Linked DNA regions of Homo sapiens: region 2 is linked to region 1. The links are contacts of gene promoters, found by promoter capture Hi-C in blood cells and fetal thymus (Javierre and others, 2016). All regions are on one chromosome and are shown on one strand. Each heading gives the region's core, a stretch centred on a gene start or on the middle of the fragment in contact. The rest is flanking DNA. Distances are from core to core; before and after follow the strand shown. Region 1 holds the start of GLIPR1 (GLI pathogenesis related 1). Region 2 has its middle 43 kb from the start of GLIPR1.

Region 1 (3,149 bases), core at 315-2,814:
AAAGTGCTGGGATTACAGGCGTGAGCCACCGCGCCTGGCCCGTATGTTTGTTTTTAATGATGGGGCCTCGCTCTGTCACCCAGGCTGGATTGCAGTGACCTGACTATAGCTCTTCACAGCCTCAAATTGTGGGGATCAAGCTATCCTCCCACCTCAACTTTCTGAGTAGGTGGGGCTACAGGTGTGCCTGGAATGTTTCTTTACTTTTTGTTTGCATTAGAAATATTTCCCCACCTCATTCCATTTTCCATCTCTCTTAATTTTCTAAAATACACGTGTTTTCTAAAACCAGGTCTAAACCCCACCTACAGCTAAAATCCTCCAATAACTTCCCATGACTTTGGTGATAAAATAAAAAATCATTAGCAGAATTGAGAAATCCTTCCTGATCTGACTCTTAACTTCTCTCCCCCAAGTGGCATGAAAGCATCATTTGGATTCTGAATTCCATGACACCAGGTATCAAGTTTTCTACCAGTCAGAATCACTACTTATTTACAGACCATATTTACAGAGGGAGACAATATGGAGAGGTTCTTGCTCTATTCTTGCCATAACACCATGTCTTCAATTTCACAACTAGATATATAGTTCCTATCCCTCTAATTCCCTTCTCCTCTCCAGCGCTTTTTCACTTGATCAACACCTAGCTGATTCTAGCCTCAGCAAAGACCTCACCTGCTGTATGTAGGCCGGCTCTGCCGTTTCCAGAATGGGTTAAGTATGCTCTCTTGTGTGTCCATATCTACCTGTGCTTTCCTATATCCAGATCTCCAACAGCCCCTGTTGTAACATCCTTGTCATCACCATCTCACAGCTCTTACCACTGTAAGCTCCTTGGGGCCAGTGACTGTGTTTTTATTTCTGTATTACTAAGGTGAATATACAAGGCAGGAATTTAATATTAGCTAGTTCATTTGATCCTGCCAAACCTCTGTAATTAAGGAAGCAGAAAAGGTCCCATAGTCTCATTCAATAGGTGGCTGAGGTTTAGAGAGTTTTGTATCCTGTCCAAGGTCTTACAGCTAGTTAGAAACAGAAACTAAATTCTCAACTTGAGTCCTGTATTCTTTCTACTATTCTCCCTCTCAATCCCTCTCTCTCTTTCTCTCTCTCTCTCTTTCTCTCCCTCTCTCTCTCTCACACACACACACACACACACACATACACGCTTACATGTTTCTACCATCGTGAATGAATTCTAGGTCAAGTTTATGATGTTAACCAGATATTCCAACCACTATGTGTTGATATGACTCTAAAAAGAAAAAGATTTCTGAAAGCATTTTGCGAGGCATTTATAGAAGTAAGAGATATTTTCATTTTATCACCGCAACCTCCATTAAAAATTGGAGACTATTATTCCTGGAGACTTCAGAATTTTCTTTGGAAATATCTCCCAATTCAAAAGGAAGTCTGACACAGCCTCATAAAAATCTATGTCGTAATAGGTGCTGTGTCACTGAAAACCACTGAAAAGACAGGGTTAAGAACACAAAGTGAGCTGCACACCATATATGGAGAAACCCGTTTCTTAAAACTAGTGATGAACTCATGCTCTGTTCTGTTTTCTCAAAGCTGAAGTCGGCTAGGTTTGCAAAGCTGTGGGCTGAGCACTCAGGCAATCACACTCTCAGAAACTGCGGCGGCTCTGGACTGCAGCCTCCCAAGGCTCCATGCCAGACAAAGCATGCGTGTCACACTTGCTACAATAGCCTGGATGGTTTCTTTTGTCTCCAATTATTCACACACAGCAAATATTTTGCCAGATATCGAAAATGAAGATTTCATCAAAGACTGCGTTCGAATCCATAACAAGTTCCGATCAGAGGTGAAACCAACAGCCAGTGATATGCTATACATGGTAAGGAAAATATCATTAATTGTGGCGTCAGTCAGTCAGAAACAACTAATGTGTATTGACTTTGGTGTTAATACCTTCGTAATACTGAATGATTTTTTTTTCATTGTGATTAATGTATGCAGTAAATTCACAGTCTGTGATCAAAACACATCCAGTTTAGCTCTGTCTACCCAACTGTTGTTATAAGCAAGTGCCACAGCACATTTTACTTCTCTTTGGACACTTCCTGTTTTCTGGTTTTCAGTGGATTTTACTTCTCTTTTTGTTATCTTCCTCCCTGTTAATTTTTGTGATTTGGTTTTCTTTTTTTTTTTTTTTTTTTGTCTCTAAATTTACTTTTTTTGCTGCTGACAAAGTACTGAGTTGCTCAGGTAGGCAGAATGGCATCTGGGGAAAGGATGGGATTTTGATTCAGTAAGGCTTGGGATTGAATTTCAGATCTGTGGCTTTAAGCTGGTTTTTAACCTTTCTGAACTTCTTAGGATATGGGCTGTTGTGGTTATGGAATAATGTTGTGAAACACGGCACACACTATTTTGCCCACAATTAGCCTTCAGTGAAATGTCAGTTTTCCTCACTTAGATTCTAAATTCCATGAAACTAAATTGTCACGTTTCCTACCAGCCCTACTCAGTGCTTGAAGACCATATTTATAGAGGACTCATATGCAGTGGTATCTTCTCTCCTTATCTCACCTCGTTTTCCATTCAAATTCCCACTGTACTCACCCCAGTTACATTTCAGATGAACCCCCTATTGTTTAATGTTTATTTTTGCAGACTTGGGACCCAGCACTAGCCCAAATTGCAAAAGCATGGGCCAGCAATTGCCAGTTTTCACATAATACACGGCTGAAGCCACCCCACAAGCTGCACCCAAACTTCACTTCACTGGGAGAGAACATCTGGACTGGGTCTGTGCCCATTTTTTCTGTGTCTTCCGCCATCACAAACTGGTATGACGAAATCCAGGACTATGACTTCAAGACTCGGATATGCAAAAAAGTCTGTGGCCACTACACTCAGGTAAGGATCTGCCCTATATTATCTTGAAACTGTCTTTTCAAGTATGAGGAGAAAAATTGTACTATGAAGTTAAGAAAATGTATAGTATGCTAGTATACCTGTAAATATAAGGGAGTTAAATAGAACAGCCTCCAAGAACAGAAAATAATGCTTGAAAAGTTTAGTTGTGTGAACTAAACACATAATAGGTAATATGTGAGGCCCACCAACTTGGACAGGCTTTGAACAATTCCTGTAACAGCTATTCTCCCATAGGACTT
Region 2 (2,997 bases), core at 360-2,859, 43 kb before region 1:
CATTTTTAGTAGAGACAGAGTTTCACCATGTTAGCCAGGATGGTCTCGATCTCCTGACCTCGTGATCCGCCTGCCTCGGCCTCCCAAAGTGCTGGGATTACAGGCGTGAGCCACCGCACCCGGCCTCACCACTATTATTTTATTGCTGTTGATCTCTTTTCTTACATCTAGGAATATTAGTTTTATGAATCTGGGTGCTCCAGTTTGGGGTACATATATACTTAAGGTTGTTATATCTCCTTATTGAATTGATCCCTTTATCATTATATAATGATCTTCTTTGTCTTTTTTTTTTTTTTTTTTTTTTTACTGTTGTTGATTTAAAGTCTATTTTATCTGATATAAGTATAGCTACTCCTGCTCACTTTTGGTTTCCATTTGCATGGGATATTTTTCTCACCCCTGTACTTTGAGTCTTTACTCATTAGGTGGCATTCTTGTAAGCAGCATATGGTTGAATTTGTCTTTTTATTCAATTCACCAGTCTAAATTTTTAAAGTGGAGCATTCAGTTCATTGACATTCAAGATTAATATTGATATGTGAGGTTTTATTCTTGTCATAATGTTAATTGTTACCTAGTTGCTTTCTAGTCTTATAATTGCTTTATAAGACCCATGAGTTTTCTTTTGTGTTCTTTTATAATGGCAAATATTATCCTTTTGTTTCTATGTTTAGAATTTCTGTGAGAATTTCTTTTAGGGCCAGGCTAGTGTTAACAAATTCCCTTAGCATTTGCATGTCTGAGAACTACTTCATTTATCCTTCATTTATGAAACTTGGCTTAGGAGGATACAGAATTCTTGGCTGGCAGTTCCTTTCTTTAAGAAGATTAAAAATGGAACCCCAATGTCCTCTGACTTGTAAGGTTTATGCTGAGAAGTCTGCTGTTAGTCTGATGGGATTTCCTTTATAAGTTATTATATGTTTCTCTCCTGCTGCTTTTAGGATTTTTTCCTTCACATTGACTTGAATAGTCTGAAGACTATATACCTTGATGAGGTATATCTTGTAGAGTATCTTCTAGGGATTCTCTTTGCTTCTTGTATCTGAATGCCTAATTCTCTAGCAAGACTAGGGACGGTTTCCCAAATTGTTCCCTTGGATAGGTTTTCCAAGCTTTTTACTTCTTCTTCTTCTTGCTTAAGATTGCCTATAACTCATAGGTTTGGTCACTTTACATAATCCCATATTTCTTGAAGGCTTTGTTTATTTATTTTATTTTATTTTTTAAATTTTTGTCTGCCTAGGTTAAATCAAAGGATTGGTCTTCGAGCTCTAAAAGTCTTTCTTATGCTTGTTCCAGTCTATTGTTAAAGCTTTCAGTTGTATTTTGTAACTCCTTCAATAATTTTTTTTATTTCCAGAAGTTCAGTTTGCTTTTTAATATGTATTTCTTTAGTAATTGTTTATTCATATTCTGAGTTTTTTTCTGATTTCGTGTTGGTTTTCAACTTTATCTTGGACCTCATTGAGCTTCCTTACAATACATATTTTAAATTCTTTATCTGTCATTTTAGAATTTTCATTTTGATTAAGATCCATTGCTAGAGAGCTAGTATGATCCTTTGGGAGTGTTGAAACACTGGTTTTTTATACTGTTGGAATTCTTACGCTGATTCCTTCTCATCTGAGGAAGCTATCATTTTTTATTTTTGAATTTACTTTCTTTTGAATGACACTTTTTTTCCCTCGAGGGTGTGACTGTAGTAATGTATATTGTGTATAATCATTTGGCTTTGATTCTGGGTGCTTTCAGTGAGCCAAGGTTCTGTATGAGTTCCTTAGTTATAGATAGCTTTTGTGTGGTGGCTTTCTTAAATGCTGATTGTAGTAGCAATGTATTGGGTATATAAGCAGGCTCACTACCTTCTGCCGGGCTGAGAGTGCAGAGGCCTCAGGAAGCTTATCTCATTCCCTAGCACTGTGCTCTTCAGTCAGCAGGTTTTATATTTGGTTGGGCACTTCAATTTCCAGTCCAGTAGGTGGTGCTTATGGGTAAAAGCTGGCTACCACAGAGGTTGATGCCTATGTTCTTTTTCTTTGTTCACTGGGAGGGGATTTCTGTTGTCACAGGCAGTTGGCTGGTCTGTGGACTACTCAATGCCCTGAGTTCCTCACTCAGCCCAGAGCAAGGGACAAATTTGGGCAGAGCTGGACTTCCAAACTCGTCTTTGAATACCCCAGTTACTAGTGGAAGCACCCACCCTGATGGGGCAGGGGGGCAGAGAGGGGCTCAGGGTCCTGAGGTCTCCACTATGGGGGGATAAAGGAGGCTGCACTAAACAAGAAGACAGTCTGCTTCCCTATCACACACCTGTCCAGGGGCTTTTGTTATTTGGTTCAAATAGATATTGTCCTTATCCTCAGCCCACAATTCAGCTGAGGTCAAGAAACATTCCCATTCCATGGCTACTCCTGAAATGGCCTTGGGGCAGAACCTCTTCCCTCAAACCTTAACAGACAGCTCTGCAACTCACTTGCACTCTGCCATAGGAATGCGAATGCTCCACATTGGGATGGGCCCCACCCTTTGTGCAAGCTTAGGCCAGTAGGCACACCATCTGTGGGGGTGAATTAACCCTCAATAGCCCTAGAAATGTTCTCCCCAGGTGCTGTTGTGCCAATTCCCAGCAGGGACAGCTGCTACTGTGTCAATTCCCAGCAGGGACATCCACAGCAGTAGATGAGGGGTGGAGGAGACCTTATTTCCACATCCGTTCCAGGCACTGGTACTGCCTGGCTGCTGTGGTGGAACCACCCTCCTCCCCTACAGAGCCCAACACCACACCCATTTCTCCGCTGGGAGGGGCACAATCATCGTCTTCTCACAAGCAGGGAGCTCTCAGGCAGATGAGAGTGCACAGTCTGGTTTCCTTTGTCCCAAAGGGTGCTTTGGCACTCTCTCCCTTTGGTGTGGGTGAGGGTGGGATTTTTGATCTGCAGTTGGCTGTATCCACAGACACAGCACCTGCAGATATGGAGGGCCAACTGTACT

What was found. Contacts are between HindIII fragments. The CHiCAGO score rates a contact against its expected background, and 5 or more counts as called.
Region 2: a fragment that was not itself captured here is called in contact with the fragment with the promoter of GLIPR1 in region 1 in 1 of 17 cell types (total B cells); the score reaches 5.2 in total B cells.

What each region holds. Positions count from the first base shown.
Region 1 is chr12:75,479,191-75,482,339 of GRCh38, forward strand. It overlaps GLIPR1 (GLI pathogenesis related 1), which reads left to right and starts at 1,565. Exons shown (of 6, transcript NM_006851.3): 1 at 1,565-1,864; 2 at 2,644-2,889. The coding sequence starts at 1,691. The HindIII fragment of the contact is 5,495 bases long and covers 1-3,149 here.
Region 2 is chr12:75,435,774-75,438,770 of GRCh38, forward strand. No RefSeq gene overlaps it. Among named protein-coding and RNA genes, the nearest start is that of GLIPR1, 43 kb to the right of the region's middle. The HindIII fragment of the contact is 586 bases long and covers 1,317-1,902 here.